2 separate regions of the Homo sapiens genome follow, and region 2 is linked to region 1. Evidence: promoter capture Hi-C in 16 types of primary human blood cells and fetal thymus (Javierre and others, 2016). All regions are on one chromosome and are shown on one strand. Each heading gives the region's core, a stretch centred on a gene start or on the middle of the fragment in contact. The rest is flanking DNA. Distances are from core to core; before and after follow the strand shown. Region 1 holds the start of PRKAB1 (protein kinase AMP-activated non-catalytic subunit beta 1). Region 2 overlaps ZNF664-RFLNA (ZNF664-RFLNA readthrough).

Evidence for each region. Contacts are between HindIII fragments. The CHiCAGO score rates a contact against its expected background, and 5 or more counts as called.
Region 2: a fragment that was not itself captured here is called in contact with the fragment with the promoter of PRKAB1 in region 1 in 1 of 17 cell types (total B cells); the score reaches 5.3 in total B cells.

What each region holds. Positions count from the first base shown.
Region 1 is chr12:119,663,188-119,670,361 of GRCh38, forward strand. PRKAB1 (protein kinase AMP-activated non-catalytic subunit beta 1) reads left to right here and starts at 4,946. Exons shown (of 7, transcript NM_006253.5): 1 at 4,946-5,216. The coding sequence starts at 5,058. It overlaps PRKAB1-AS1 (PRKAB1, TMEM233 and CCDC60 antisense RNA 1), which reads right to left and starts at 4,940. Exons shown (of 3, transcript NR_188494.1): 1 at 4,756-4,940. RefSeq lists enhancers at 2,514-2,658, 4,793-5,202, 5,641-6,276, a cis regulatory region at 2,578-2,595 and a silencer at 4,423-4,692. The HindIII fragment of the contact is 11,826 bases long and covers 535-7,174 here.
Region 2 is chr12:123,976,220-123,983,393 of GRCh38, forward strand. The region is part of intron 2 of ZNF664-RFLNA (ZNF664-RFLNA readthrough); the gene reads left to right. The region is part of intron 2 of ZNF664 (zinc finger protein 664); the gene reads left to right. Among named protein-coding and RNA genes, the nearest start is that of ZNF664-RFLNA, 6.6 kb to the left of the region's middle. The HindIII fragment of the contact is 1,601 bases long and covers 2,252-3,852 here.

The DNA.
Region 1 (7,174 bases), core at 3,696-6,195:
ACTCCAGCCTGAGTGAAAAGAGTGAAACTCCATCTCAAAAAAAAAAAAAAAGAGGATAGACTTGAGGTGAACTTTATTAAGAACATTGTGTTACCTTGAACTGGGCACTTCTCCCTTCTAGGTTTCAGCTTACCCTGTGAGTGAAGCTATTTATTTAAAAAAAACTTTATTGAAAATAAAATAAAGATACAGGAAACTACACAAAAGAAATGTATGGCTTAGTAAGTTACTACAAGGCAAACATGTTAATAATTACCAACCCAGGTCAAGAAACAGAATTTTCTCAGACAACCTAAAAGTCACAAAATGAGGCTATTTGCCAATTAAGGTTGTAGACCAAATGCTGTAGAATGAACTTCTTTTAATTCTATGTTGATGACTCTCTGTCACAATATTCACATCTCAGTGCAAAGAGAACACAAGAATGTCTAGCAAGAAAAGATGGACAAGTTTCTCAAACATTGGCAGTGTTACTTACATTGGCTAGGCAAAATTCAGAAGGCCTGGTGGAAATCTGGTTAAGCCCTAAAAGTAAGCTTGTAATTCTATCCTAGCAGCCCACACACATTTGAGTCTGTCTTAGTCAGCTCAGACTGCTATAACAAATCATCAACTGGGTGGCTTAAACAACAGAGATTTACTTCTCCCAGGTCCGAAAGCTGGAAGTCTAATATCAGTGATATAATTTGGATACTTTTCCCCCTAAATCTTACACTGAAATGTAATCCCATGTTGGAGGTGAGGCCTCCAACATGGTGGGAGGTGACTGCATCATGGAGGTGGACTTCTCATGAATAGTGTAGCACCATCGTCTTGGTGCTGCCCTCACAAGATCTGGTTGTTTAAAAGCGTGCGGCACCTCCTCCCACTTTTTTTCTTACTCCCACTCTTGCCATGTGATACATCAATACATCGGCTCCCCCTTGGCTTCCTGAGGCCTCACCAGAAGCAAGCAGATACCCAGAGCCATGCTTGCTGTACAGCCTACAGAACCATAAGCCAAGTAAACCTCTTTTCTTTATAACTTACTCAACCTCAAATATTTCTTTATAGCAATACAAGAATGGCCTAATACAATCAGGGTGCCAGGATGGTTGATGTGTGGTGAGGGCTCTTTCCCTGAGTTGCAGATGGCCGCCTTCTTGCTTTGTCATCACATGGCCTTTCCATTGAGCATGGGCGTGAATAGACAGCATGCGAGCAAGCTCTCCAGCGTCTCTTCTTCCCATAAGTACCCTGATCTCATCATGGGGGCCCCACTCTCATGAGCTCATCTAACCCTAATTACCCCTTGAAGGCCCCACCTCCAAACATTATAAAATTGGGAGTGGGAGTGCAAATGTATGAATTTTGGGGGGATACAATTTAGTCTACAGCATAGTCCAAATGTGAAATTTCTTCCTCCAGCTACCGATGTTTAGTGAGAACACTGCCTGTTCTCACCACATGTGCATATGTGTGTGGACTCTTTCCTCTGGAGGGCAAGAACTTGGTTTTGTTCACTGTTGTAACCAAGAGTTACAACAGTGCCTGGCTCATAATTGGCACTCAATATTGCCATTGAGTTATTTGTGATCAGAGCCCTGGCTGTTCTTAGATGGGGAGGGTTCTTCAGAACAGTACAAATGTTTGTAGACAGGCCAGCTGGGGAACCAAAGGTCTTTTTGATGAGGTGCCATGACCATGATGTAGTGGGGAGTGGCCAGGTGATCCAGAATTCAGTCTCAGTATGACCTATGATCATCTGAGTGACCTCAGGCAAAACTGTTCGATCTCTGGGACTTAGACTCTTCCTTATATAAAACAAATGGGTTGGTCAGTTCAGAAGTGCTATACTGATTCTAATCCATCCTATGGAGGAGGCCCCAAAACATTATCCTTAACCCTTTTAATCATAAATTTAAGGATAAATGAGATTTTATCTCACTCTGGGTGACTTTTAAGGACTTGAAAACCTACTTCTTTTTGTGCTTGGAGCTGGAGTGAATTTGAAGCCAGGGTTGCGGGGGTGGGGGAGGGGTACTCCTAGCTGTGGCTGTGTTAAAATTGCCCTGGTTTGTTTGGGGGAGAATCTAGGGTATTTATCATTTGTCTTTGCCCTGGTGCCAGACAGACAGCAGTGAGTAGATGATGCCTTTTACACAGCAATGTGCTAACAGTTATACTTCCTGGCACACCTCCAGCCCCCAAGATGGAATGGTCTGACATCCATATCAGCAGAGAATCAGAGAAAGATGAGACGCTCTGATGCTTAGGAAAGTCACAAACCATTGTTACACAGATAAGTAACACAAAATGACCCAAGAGAGACACAGCTGGGACCCAAGTAGACACTTGTAATTGGCGAGTCTACCCTACCCATGATTTTCAATATGGGGTCAATAGCTGATAGATACCAATGTTAGTTTCTTTGTCATGAAATCTTGATACAATGTGGTAAGAGTTTCCAATCAGCAGTTGGTGGCATCCTCAGGATATTGTTGATTGTATTTGACATCAAGGGCCACCCATGCTTTCACTGTTATCTTATTCAAGCTAGTGCAGATGTCTTAAAACTTTCTTCATGCATCAAAGCATCTGCATAGCTCAGATAAAGAATCCACAGCTCATGTGTTCTTTCTTATCTCTCCGGCTGTTTGGGAGAGATTTCAAAACTCAACACCCCACTGTCTCATGTAACCAAGTCAGGGCCACTATTAGAAAAGCAGCTCAAAGAAGATATCCTGGGTCATCCACAGTATCTTAGCTTATTTAATTCAGCAAGCACATTCAACATTTCTGATTATACTGAATACATTCAAATTCTCAGTCATCAGCTTCAGGAAGACCCTCCTGGCTCCCATCCCTTTTCCTGGCTCCCATCCCTTTTCCTGGCCTGGCTTAAGTCCCTTCTGGGCTCCCACAGGATCCCTTACCTAGCTATATTATTGCTTTTCTGTGGGTCGGTGCCAGCCTGTACTGTATTAATTCCTTTGGGGCTGGAACCATATCTTATTTTTTTAAATTAAAAAGTAGTACATCCTCACAATAGAAAACTTTTCAAATACAGAACTATATAAATGAAAAGTGAAAGTCCCTTTTCTGTCTGCTCCTATTTGCAATCTCCCTCCTCTCCCCACAGAAGACCACTATTAACAATGTGTTGTATACCCTTCCAGAACTTTCCATTTGCTAGCCTAATAGTGCTAATAAAAGTGTTAACAGTTATTGAGTGTTTACTAAGAGTCAAGTGCTATGCTCAGCATTTTTATGCACGTTCCCAATTAATTCACAAAACAAGCCTATGAAGTAGGTGTTATTTTTGTTCCCATTTCACAAAAGAAGAGACTAAGGTGACAGTTACTAAATGGTAAAGCCAGAATCTGAACATGGCCAGGCTGAATTCAGAGCTCCTGCCCTTGAACTTGTTCTCTCACTTGCTTCCGGACCTTGCAATATCATAGACACTTCCCCATAGTGACCTAAAAATGGTTTCTCCCTTTTTAAAAGTTGCTTGGTATTCTACAAAATGAATGTATTCCATTCATTTTGCCATTCTCCTACTGAACAACTTTTAGGATTTTGTAGTTTTTCATTTCCTTATTTCACCAAGTGTAAGATTCCATTATTGTAAAAAGCATCCAGTTTCAGAAATTAAAATATATGGGGGCATGGGGGGTGACAAGTGCATCTTAGAATATATTTTTGCATGTAAATATTTTGTAGATAATGCTTGTAAATAATTTTCATGTGTGTATTTCTGCACAAGTTTCCTAGGAGTAAAATTGTGTGTCAAAATGAAGGTGCATTTTTAAATTTTGATGCATACTGCTGAATTCCCCCCAGGAAACCTTATCTTAGTCATCTTGTGTTCCTCATTTCCTTAGCACAATGTCTGGTACTTTTTTAGGTACTAAATAAATGTTCAGTGGGTGAAATGCATGACCTGACCCGGCAAATGCAAAGTATTTTGAGATATTCACACACCAAAAAACCCACAAAATATGACAATGACTGACAATGAGAAGATGAGAATATTTTACTACCGTATTTGTATGCACTTCTTGTTGAAGCACTGACCAGAGTAAATGACAAACGCTAATGCATCTTATGCAGAAGGATGTTTCCGAAGTGATTACAAGATATCTTGCAAAATTACCTATCAAAAGATTGCACACTCAATAAAAATACACGAATAACTCCAGCATTTTACAACCCCCAACCTACTAGACATAAGAAATTTCCAGAGATCTTATGGTCTGCCATTTTTTCAAATACCTGCAAGACTGCCTGCACCCCCGACCCTAATCTGTAGAAATCATGATTCTGCAGGTCTGCAGTGGGGGATGCATTTAACAAGCGCTCCAGGTTAACCTAATGCACTGTAAAGCGTGAGAACACGTGCATTAAAAGGGCTTTAAGAAGTGGAGTTTCTGAATCAGATTTGCATTTTAGAAAGATCCCTCTGGCTGCAGAGTGTAGAATCAACTATAAGTGAGCAAAGATAGCTAAATGGCATTATTCAGCCCAGCGCATGAACGGCTCAGATTGCCCGCGCGCTGGGGTGCCCCCTGCCGGCCCTCGGCAGCGCCTCGTCCTGGGCCTGGCCCTGGGCGGCCGGCTGCTGACTGCGACTGCGCGCTCCGAGGCCTGCAGAGACGGCCCGGGGCACCTGTTACCGCACCGCTCAAGACCGGAAGCGGAAATGGAATCGAGATAGCCTCGCGCGTTTAGCTGGCCGCCGCCACCTCCACGCCCTAGGCCGGGCCGACTTACGGAGTCGCCGGAAGCGGAAGTCGCTGAGGGGTGGTGAAGCGGTTGGGAAAGTGTCGGTTTATCTTCGCGCCCCTTGCGTTCTTGCCGCGGCTTGCCTGGGCAGGTAAAGCGCGATTGCGAGAGCTCGGCAACCCTGCCGACTCAGCCGGAACCGGCTCCCGGCCCGAGGGGCGTGGTGTCCTGGTGCTCCGACTCCTTCCGCAGGCTCCTTGGGACCCGCGGTTCCGGGAGTCCCTTGCTCAGGGTCCCTTTCCTGCAGTGAGGCGCCGTCCGCCTTCCCTGTGTCCCCGCAGACCCCCATCATGGGCAATACCAGCAGTGAGCGCGCCGCGCTGGAGCGGCATGGTGGCCATAAGACGCCCCGGAGGGACAGCTCGGGGGGCACCAAGGACGGGGACAGGCCCAAGATCCTGATGGACAGCCCCGAAGACGCCGACCTCTTCCACTCCGAGGAAATCAAGGTGCGAGCGGTGTGGAGGAACCCGATTCCCCTTGACTAATGTTGAGGAGAGGAACCCTCCACTAGATTCCCGTCACATCCTTTCGAAAAACACCAGAACGGAGAGGGAGGTGGTACATTACCCGGTGCACTTAAAAGCCAGATGGTCCTGTAAGAGTTCTCTTAGCGGTCCAAGAACCTGTGTCTAATTACCAATATGAGAAAGTCACCCTGAGGGAGGAGGTGCTCACTTGGTTTAACATCATTAAGGAGAAAGCAGCTCTGGGACAGAGTTTCAAATTCTTAATTAATTCAGAGTCGAGCTAACAGTAATTGAGCCCCAGCTTCTGCTTTTCTCTTAGGTGTAATTAATTGCACTGCTTTGAGACAAATTCCCTCACCTTTACACAAACTGGAGCTTTTGTAAAAGTTAGTTTGGGAATTTATCCATTTTGGAGGCAAACCAGGTACATATACAAGCTGAAAGTAGAGCGGAACAGCTGACGGCAGTTGCCAGAGGTGTTTAGTTCTGCCCAACACTTTTGATTCACCCTACTTATTTTTTAAAAGACGGTGGTCTCACTAATTAGCCGGGCGTGGTGGCGGGCGCCTGTGGTCCCAGCTACTCGGGAGGCTGAGGCAGGAGAATGGCGTGAACCCGGGAGGCGCAGCTTGCAGTGAGCCGAGGTCGCGCCACTGCACTCCAGCCTGGGCGACAGAGCTAGACTTCGTCTCAAAAAAAAAATATAAATAAAAATAAAAAAGACGGTGGTCTCACAATGTTCTCCAGGCTGGTCTCGAACTCCCGGGTTCAAGCAATCTTTATGCCTTGGCCTCCCAAAGTGCTGGGATCGCAGGCGTGAGCTACGGTGCTGGCCGGTTCAGCCTACTTTTTTTTTTTTTTGAGACCGAGTCTCGCTCTGTCGCCCAGGCTGGAGTGCAGTGGCGCGATCTCGGCTCACTGCAAGCTCCGCCTCCTAGGTTCACGCCATTCTCCTGCCTCAGCCTCCCGAGTAGCTGGGACGACAGGCACCCGCCACCACGCCCGGCTAATTTTTTATATTTTTAGTAGAGACGGGGTTTCACCGTGTTAGCCAGGATGGTCTCCATCTCCTGACCTCAGGAGATCCGCCTGCCTCGGCCTCCCAAAGTGCTGGGATTACAGGCGTGAGCCACTGAACCCACCCTACTTATTTTTTTTTTTTCCTTCTTTGAGATGGAGTCTCACTCTGTTGCCCAGGCTGGAGGGCAGTAGCACAATCTCGGGGCACTGCAACCTTCGTCTCCCGGACTCAAACCATCCTGCCTCAGCCTCCCGAGTAGCTGGGACTACAGGCGTGTGCCACCATGCCTGGCTAATTTTGTGTATTTTTGGTAGAGGTGGGGTTTCGCCATGTTGCCCAGGTTGGTCTTGAACTCCTGACCTCAAGTGATCCGCCCGCCTGGGCCGCCCAAAGTGCTGCGATTACAGGCATGAGCCACCACTCCCGGCCTCACCCTGCTTTTTTTTAAAGCGTACATAGAAAAGTCTTTCAGCTTCTAGAGGTCAGTGGGCGGTGAGGGTCTGTCTGAAGGAGGCAGCCAGCAGCTACTGAACTTCTCTCTAGTGTTGTTTAAATATGACTTAATCGTGCTTAAGCAGGCCAGTGCAAACATTTTTCTTCCTGCTGCAGCCTGTTTAAATTCAAAAACTCAGGTGACTTAACTCCTGCTTCAACCACACTCCTGTTAACCACCTTCATATGGTGGATATTTCCAGCCGCAGGGCTCAGTCCAAGGACACTTAGTGATTCTGGCAGCTGGTATTTATGTGTTATGTCCAAAAGGAACTAATTGTTTCAAGGAACAAAGTAGGTTTAGGAAAGATAAAGCTGCCCTCTGCCCAACATACCCTGTTAGTATCCAATTTCATGTTAATCATCATCCATTTAATTGCTTGGCAGCTCATTCCATCTGTGTTTGTCCTCATGTTGAGCGAGG
Region 2 (7,174 bases), core at 1,802-4,301, 4.3 Mb after region 1:
TGAGGGAGTATAAAAAAGGGGAGACCAAATTTTAGAGTGGAGAGAAGGGGCCTAGGAAAGACTTTTCTGTATAAATAAGATTTAAGCTGAGATTTGAAGAGTGCGTAGGTGTTAGTGTGGAGGAAAGTGGGGGATAATTTTCCAGGCAGAGGAACAGCATGTGGGAAGGCCTCAAAGTGGGGAAAAAGCTTTGCCCATTCCAGGAACTGAAAGAATGAATGTGGATAGACTATGGAGGTGAAGGGGAAGAGTGGCTAGGCCAGGGGCCAGATCAAGTAGGGTCATGTAGGGCAGGTTAAAGTGGTTGTATTTTATCCCGAGTGAAATGGGAAACCATGATATGGGTTGGGATTTACGAAGAGGAGTGACATAATCAGATTTGTATCTTTAAACAGCCACTCTAGTCGTTGCATGCAAGATGTGGGGGCGTGTTGGGGGTGGAGAGTAGAAGTGGGGAGACCAGGTTGGCCATCTCAGAGGGCTGCCTGGAAGAGACGTGAGCTTTCCCTTGGAATTCACATTGACCTCACGTTACCAGCTACACTAAGGTCAAATCAATGTTTGATTAAAAAAAAAAAAGATCCTGGCCATGCACAGTGGCTCACACCTGTAATCCCAGCACTTTGGGAGGCAGGTGGATCATGAGGTCAGGAGACCGAGACCATCCTGGCTAACACGGTGAAACCCTGTCTCTACTAAAAATACAAAAAATTAGCTGGGCGTGGTGGCAGGCACCCGTATTCCCAGCTACTCGGGAGGCTGAGGCAGGAGAATGGCGTGAACCCGGGAGGTGGAGCTTGCAGTGAGCGGAGATCATGCCACTGCACTCCAGCCTGGGCAACAGAGGGAGACTGTCTCACAAAACAAACAAAACCCCCACAAATCCTTGTTTCTAATTTTTAAGAAGTGGGGATAAATAAAAGCAATAAAAAGGTACTTGGTATGCAAAAAGTACACATAAATGTTAAACTAGTTGTCTATACTTAAAAGTATCAGAGAGTCAAATTAAAAATTGGGACATTATTTAACAAGGTTTGTATGTTTTGACAAAGCGGTAATATGTGAGATAGGAGTGAAGTGAGGCTCTAAAATGAAGGGAAATATTTGTAGATGCTATTGACTATGAAAACAATAACAAAAATTATTAGACAAAAAAATTGATGGAGTGACCATGTATTAGTATATGTATAAAATTAATAGCTTTCTGAATACCAGAAATAACCTACTAGAACCTAAAATGGCCAAAAAAAAAAAAAAAAAACCCTAAACAAGAAACTGGCTCTGACCAGGTTGCAGCAAAACAAGTGAACCGTGTAGGCACAACCTTATAGAGTCAAGTGTGCACTCTGTGGAGGAGACCATAAAGTATCCTGAAAGGTCTGAAGGGGTACCTTGAACGGAAAGAGAGGCCATCTTCCGGGCTGTGATGTCTGCATGTTATGGAGATGCTCATTTTGGGGTGAACGTGGTAGAATACTTATGAGTAATGAGGTGAGACAAATATATTTAAACATATTATAGAGCCACATTCATTAAAACAGTATCGTTCTGGCTGTAAAATATCCATACAGGTCAATGGAACTTATTCAGCACCCCAGAAATAAACTTTTTTATATGGAAATGTCATAAATAATAATGAAATCATCACAAATGCCCCCTGAGTCTAAAGAAAATGTAAGTAAATATTAAACATCTGGAAAGAGGAGTTTTACATGCTAAGGTGGATGGAGCACATGCTTTAGACTCAGATGTGTCTAAACTGGAATCTTTTAAGTGAGGAAAATTATCCCCACTTTGCAGGTGTTATGAGAGTAAGAGATAAAGGGCCAGGCACCTACAGGGCACTCAAATCTGTAAGTAGCTGCTGCTATTAGAAACAATAGAGAAAATAATAATTAAAAATTAGTGTATTAGACTACATAAAAATTTATTCTTTAGGAAGAGAAGGGAAAAAAAAAACCCGAATCATAAAGTGGAAAATATTTGTGGCAAATGATAAGCTAAGAGTTAGTATTTTCAATATGCAAAGAACTCATCCAAATTGGTGAAGAAAATAATGAAGATCCACACACAGGTGGTTATAGGATGTGAATAGACAGTTCGCTGGATAGAAATATAACTTGTGAAACATTGGAAAAGCTGTGTAATTCATTAATAATCAAATCACTAATTACCGTATAGAAAAGTTAGATTCTGTTCTGAATAGCAGCAAAACTAGAAAACATTTACAAGTAAGACATAAATGTACCAAAGCTTTATGAAGAGAAGTAAAAACTTTTACCTAAATGATTTAAAAGCTAACCTAAATAAATGGGCAGACTTGTTCCTGGAGGGGAAGGCATCATTGTAGATTGCAGTACCTCCAAATTAAACTATGATTTCAATGTAATTACAATTGAAATCCCAGTGGGAATTCTTCTGGACACTAGATAAATTGCTTCTAAAACTCTTTTATAGGAGTAAATGTCCTAGAATGGCCAAAAAATGACAAACGTTTTTAATGGAAAAGTAGTGTTGGGGGATTTGCTATATGAGAAGTCAAAGCATACTGAAATGCTGCAGTAATATAAATGGTGAACACAAGAATAGACAGATTGACGCCTGGAGCAAAGTAGAATCCAGTAACAGACCCATTTTTATATCAGAATTTAGTATATGATAAAGTTGGTGTTTTGCAACAGTTGGGAAATTATAATTCAGTGTGTTGTATAGGGATAAGTGGCTCTTTATTTAGAAAGAAAGATCCTACTTCACATTCAAAATAACTTAGATGGATTAAGGAACTAACTAAAAAAACCTATAAAAGCATTAGAAGGAAATATAAGAGAATTTGTTATGTAGAAGGATACACTGGAAATGATGTGTTTTAGGTAGGCCATTTAGGTAAGACCAAGACCTAAAATCATAAATGAAAGGATTGATAAATTTGACTATAATCACAGTTGATAATTCTGTGACAAAAAGCGTTACAGAGTGACAGACTGGGAAAACAACCTGTAGCATGTATAAAGAATAAATAGAATTAACAAATTAGGTAATGAATTGAGGATATGAATAGTTCTTAGATAAATGTGTTCAAACAGTGAAGAGAAATTCAACCTCATTGTGATTAAGAGAATGGAAATTTAAAAACTAGATTTTTTTGTTGGGAGGAGGGCATCAGGCAAAAATTAAAAACTATCCAGCGATGTAAAAGAGGCACCTAATACATTGTTGGGACATAAAATTTTTCCAAGTTTTTAGATGGCAATTTTGGCAGAATTTTATCAAAATAAAAGTACACGTTGATTTAGCAGCTACACTTCAAGGAATCTGTGCTATTTTCATAGGAGAACATACGTTAATATAAACAATGTCTATTGCAGCGTCATTTATAATGAAAAATTGAAGATAATCACAATAAATTTTGGTACCCATATACTGTGGAATATCAAGTAGCGTTTTGTTTTTTGTGGGATTTTTTGTTTGTTTTGTTTTGAGACAGGGTCTTGCTCTGTTGCCTAGGCTGGAGTGCAGTGGTACGGAATGTGGTTCAGTGTAGCCTCAGCCTCCTGGGCTCAAGTGATCTGCCTCAGCCTCTCAAGTAGCTGGGACCACACACACACACACACACCACTACACCTGGCTGATTTTTAAATTTTTTTTGTAGAGACGGAGTCTCACCACGTTACCCAGGCCAGTCTTGAACTCCTGGCCTCAAGTGATCCTCCCGCCTTGGCCTCCCAAAGTGTTGGGATTACAGGCATGAGCCACCATGTCTAGCCTATTAGTTTTTTATATAGAGAGGTAGATTTGTATGTACTGACATAGCCTGTATGGATGTCTAGAATATACTGTTGAGCCAAAAAAGCAAGCTTAATCTCATTTTTTGTAAGATACAAAACAAAATAATGAAGGGTGAGTGTGTGTATATATATATATTCTGAATAAGAATTAGAAAAAGACTAGAATACCTGAAAACATTTAATTCTGATTACTTCATGGGAAAAGCCTAGGGGAGACTGGTTTTTCATATCACATGTGTTTGCATTGCTTCAGTTTTTTTTACAATGGGCATTTACTTTTGTAAGGAAGATGTTACAATTTCTCACCAATTTCATGAAGGTCTAGATTTAGACAAAAATATACAGTGCCTAGTACCTAAAAGGATGTGGTAAAAATGACACACTCTTATGTTACATTGGCCATATGTGTCAAGAGTCTTAAAATTATTTACATTTCTTGATGGTCTAGGAACCATCAAAAGAATATTTTTAAATACAGAGAAAAGCTTTCTGCACAAAATATGTATATTGTAGAATTATATTTATGGGCACAGTTTGCAGAATGGTTATGATACATCCCCTATATCATATATTTAGTGGCAAATAACATTGCCATTAAAAACGTTTATGAAGAAAATATATTAAAATGCTTATGATAGTGTTAAGTGGAAGGAAATCAGGATACACAATTGTATACCTGATATGATGAAAACGCCCCAAAAAAAGTCCCAGCAGCCTTCCAGTAAAACCTATGAATGGCAAAAATATGTAGAAGAAATTAGATGGAAATCTTAAGAATTGTGGAATTCGGTAGGATGTCGGGTGATTTAAATAATCTTTTTTGTATTTGCCAAGATTACATGTACCTGTATTACATGTATGATGGAACATTTGATTTAACAAAGTATATCTGGGACATGATAGCTACATGGCAAATAGACATGAGCACTTTTTTTTTTGGTTAAAGCCAATGAATAAATTTGGAATTTACACTGAAAATGATTGGGACCCATTGAAAACTTGTGAGTAGGGTAAGAACAATCCATTTTGCATTTTAGAAGGTTACATTAGAGTAGATAATGGATTAGAGGGAAGCAAGACTGGAGGCTTTTGTAGAATTCCAGGGAAGATGATGGTGGCTTGAGTTAAGTTGAGACAATGCAGGTACACAGTGGAGAGTTTCCAGAGGTATTTGGAAGAGAGTGGCTAGACCTTTGTGATGGGGGGAAGTCAATGATATTGACTTGGGCAATTGAGGGGAGAGTGGACTCATTTACTATAGTTGGGAATTGGCTATGGTTTGAATATTTGTCCCCTCCAAAACTCATGTTGAAACTTAATCCCCAATGTGACAGTGTTGAGAGGTGGGGCCTTTCAGAGGTTTGGCTCATGAGGGCAGAGCCATTCATAGATTAATGGGTTGTCATGGGAGGGGACCTGGGGGCTTTATAAAAAGAAAAGAGATCTGAGACAGCATGTTAACATGCTCAGCCCCCTCTCATCGTGTGATGCCCTGTGCCGGCTCAGGGCTCTTTGGAGAGTCCCCACCAGCAGGAGAGCTGTCACCAGATGTGGTCCTGGGCTTTTTCAGCCTCCATAACTGTAAGAGATAAATTTCTTCATAAATTATCCAGTTTCAGGTATTCTCTTGTAAGCAATAGAAAACAGATTAAGACAGGAATATAGTAGGCTTTGGTGAGGAAGTGACTGATTCAGTTTTGGATGTACTTGAGTTTGAAGGTCTTATAGGACACATAGGTGTGTCACGAAGAGGATTTACAAAGAATAATTTTACAGTACACATGTTTTGCTGTAAGAATGACTAGATACTATACATAGCTATGGTATTAAAATCAATATTTCTACATGGTAAATTTTTCTTGCAATATAGTTGTACTTCTGTAAATTGGGGCATATCTGTCTAGATAGACTGGACCATTGATATTTTTCACATAGAATTATTTGAGACTGCATGACCTCGACTTCAGATAATACCATGATTGTCTTTGGGGTTCATTGGGTAGACTCTTGCCTCTCTGAGTGGGTGGTGGAGGTTCCTCTGGGCATTAGTGGTCCTTTTGTCAGTCATCCTGTTGTCAGAGTACACCTGACTTCTGGGAGTGATTTCTCTTCATCTTGGTAAACTGGTCCCTTCCACGTAGGGGCAGGCCAGGAAATAGGCAGAGTGGTGCCCTTTCATCCATGTGTGAGTGCCCACCTGGCTGTTAATAGTATGGCTGGAGCATGGGTACCTTGAAGGACAAGTGGAGAAAAGGTAGCGGAGAAAGTGCCTGCCAAGGTAACAGAAGTCATTAGAGAGGAAGGTAGATGTCTTCATCAGAGGTTGGGGCCCAGTCGCTGGGAAGTTGGTGGCAGTCAGTGTGGCTGTGCTCTTTGCCTTCATCTCCCAGGCTTCTCCTGCTCACTGTGTGTCTGCCCTATGCTTCTATGTGTGCCTGCCCTCCCCCTAATCTCTTCTCTCGCTTGGCAGTAAATAACACGTGACCCCAGGTGGTCACTCTGGAAGGCCATTCTGAAACTCTAACTTCTGCCAGCTCACATCACAGACCCAGTCTTTCCACTTCCCACTTCCCAATTCCAAATTCTCTAGAAGGACAATCTGATTGGCTTAGCTTGGGTTCCACGCTCACCGTATCGGTTTTACTGTTGCAGCGCTTACAGGAGCAGATTCATTTAGTGTGAGCCTGGTGGACTGGCTAGAAGGGAGTGCAGACGAGGACACTCAGGAGAGACGTCCTGGAAGTTAGAAAGTTTCAAGAATGGACAGGAGCAGTAGTTTCAAACGGCCTAGAGATGTAATAAAGGGATCAGGAGTGAATCTTAGATTTAGCAAATTGAAGTCTTTCAGCCCAGGTTGAAAGTTGTGTCTACTGGGCATGGTGGCTCATGCCTGTAATCCCAGCACTTTGAGGGGCCAAGGCAGGCAGATGGCTTGAGGCTGGGAGTTTGAGACCAGCCTGGGCAACATGGCAAAACCCCGTCTCTACCAAAAATACAAAAATTAGCCAGGCATGGTGGCACACACCTGTGGTTCCAGCTACTTAAGAGGCTGAGGTGGGAGCATCACTGGAAGGCAGGGCTGTAGTGAGCCATGATCACGCCACTGTACTCCAGCCTGGGTGACAGAGCGAGACCCTGTCTCAAAAAAATAAAAAAAGAAAGCAAGCAAGTTGTGCTACAGCTAATCCATGTGGGAGAGTCACAAGGTGGAACCAATGGCTATGATTACTCATTTGTAAGACACTGAAAGAAGAGAATTTTTAAAATACAATTTAATTTTGAAGATGTAGCAGAAGCATTCAAAATGTAATTTTAAAAATATAATTCGTATTGCTTTTTAACGCTAAAACATTTCTACACCTTTATTCTGATTCTGAAATACACAGTGT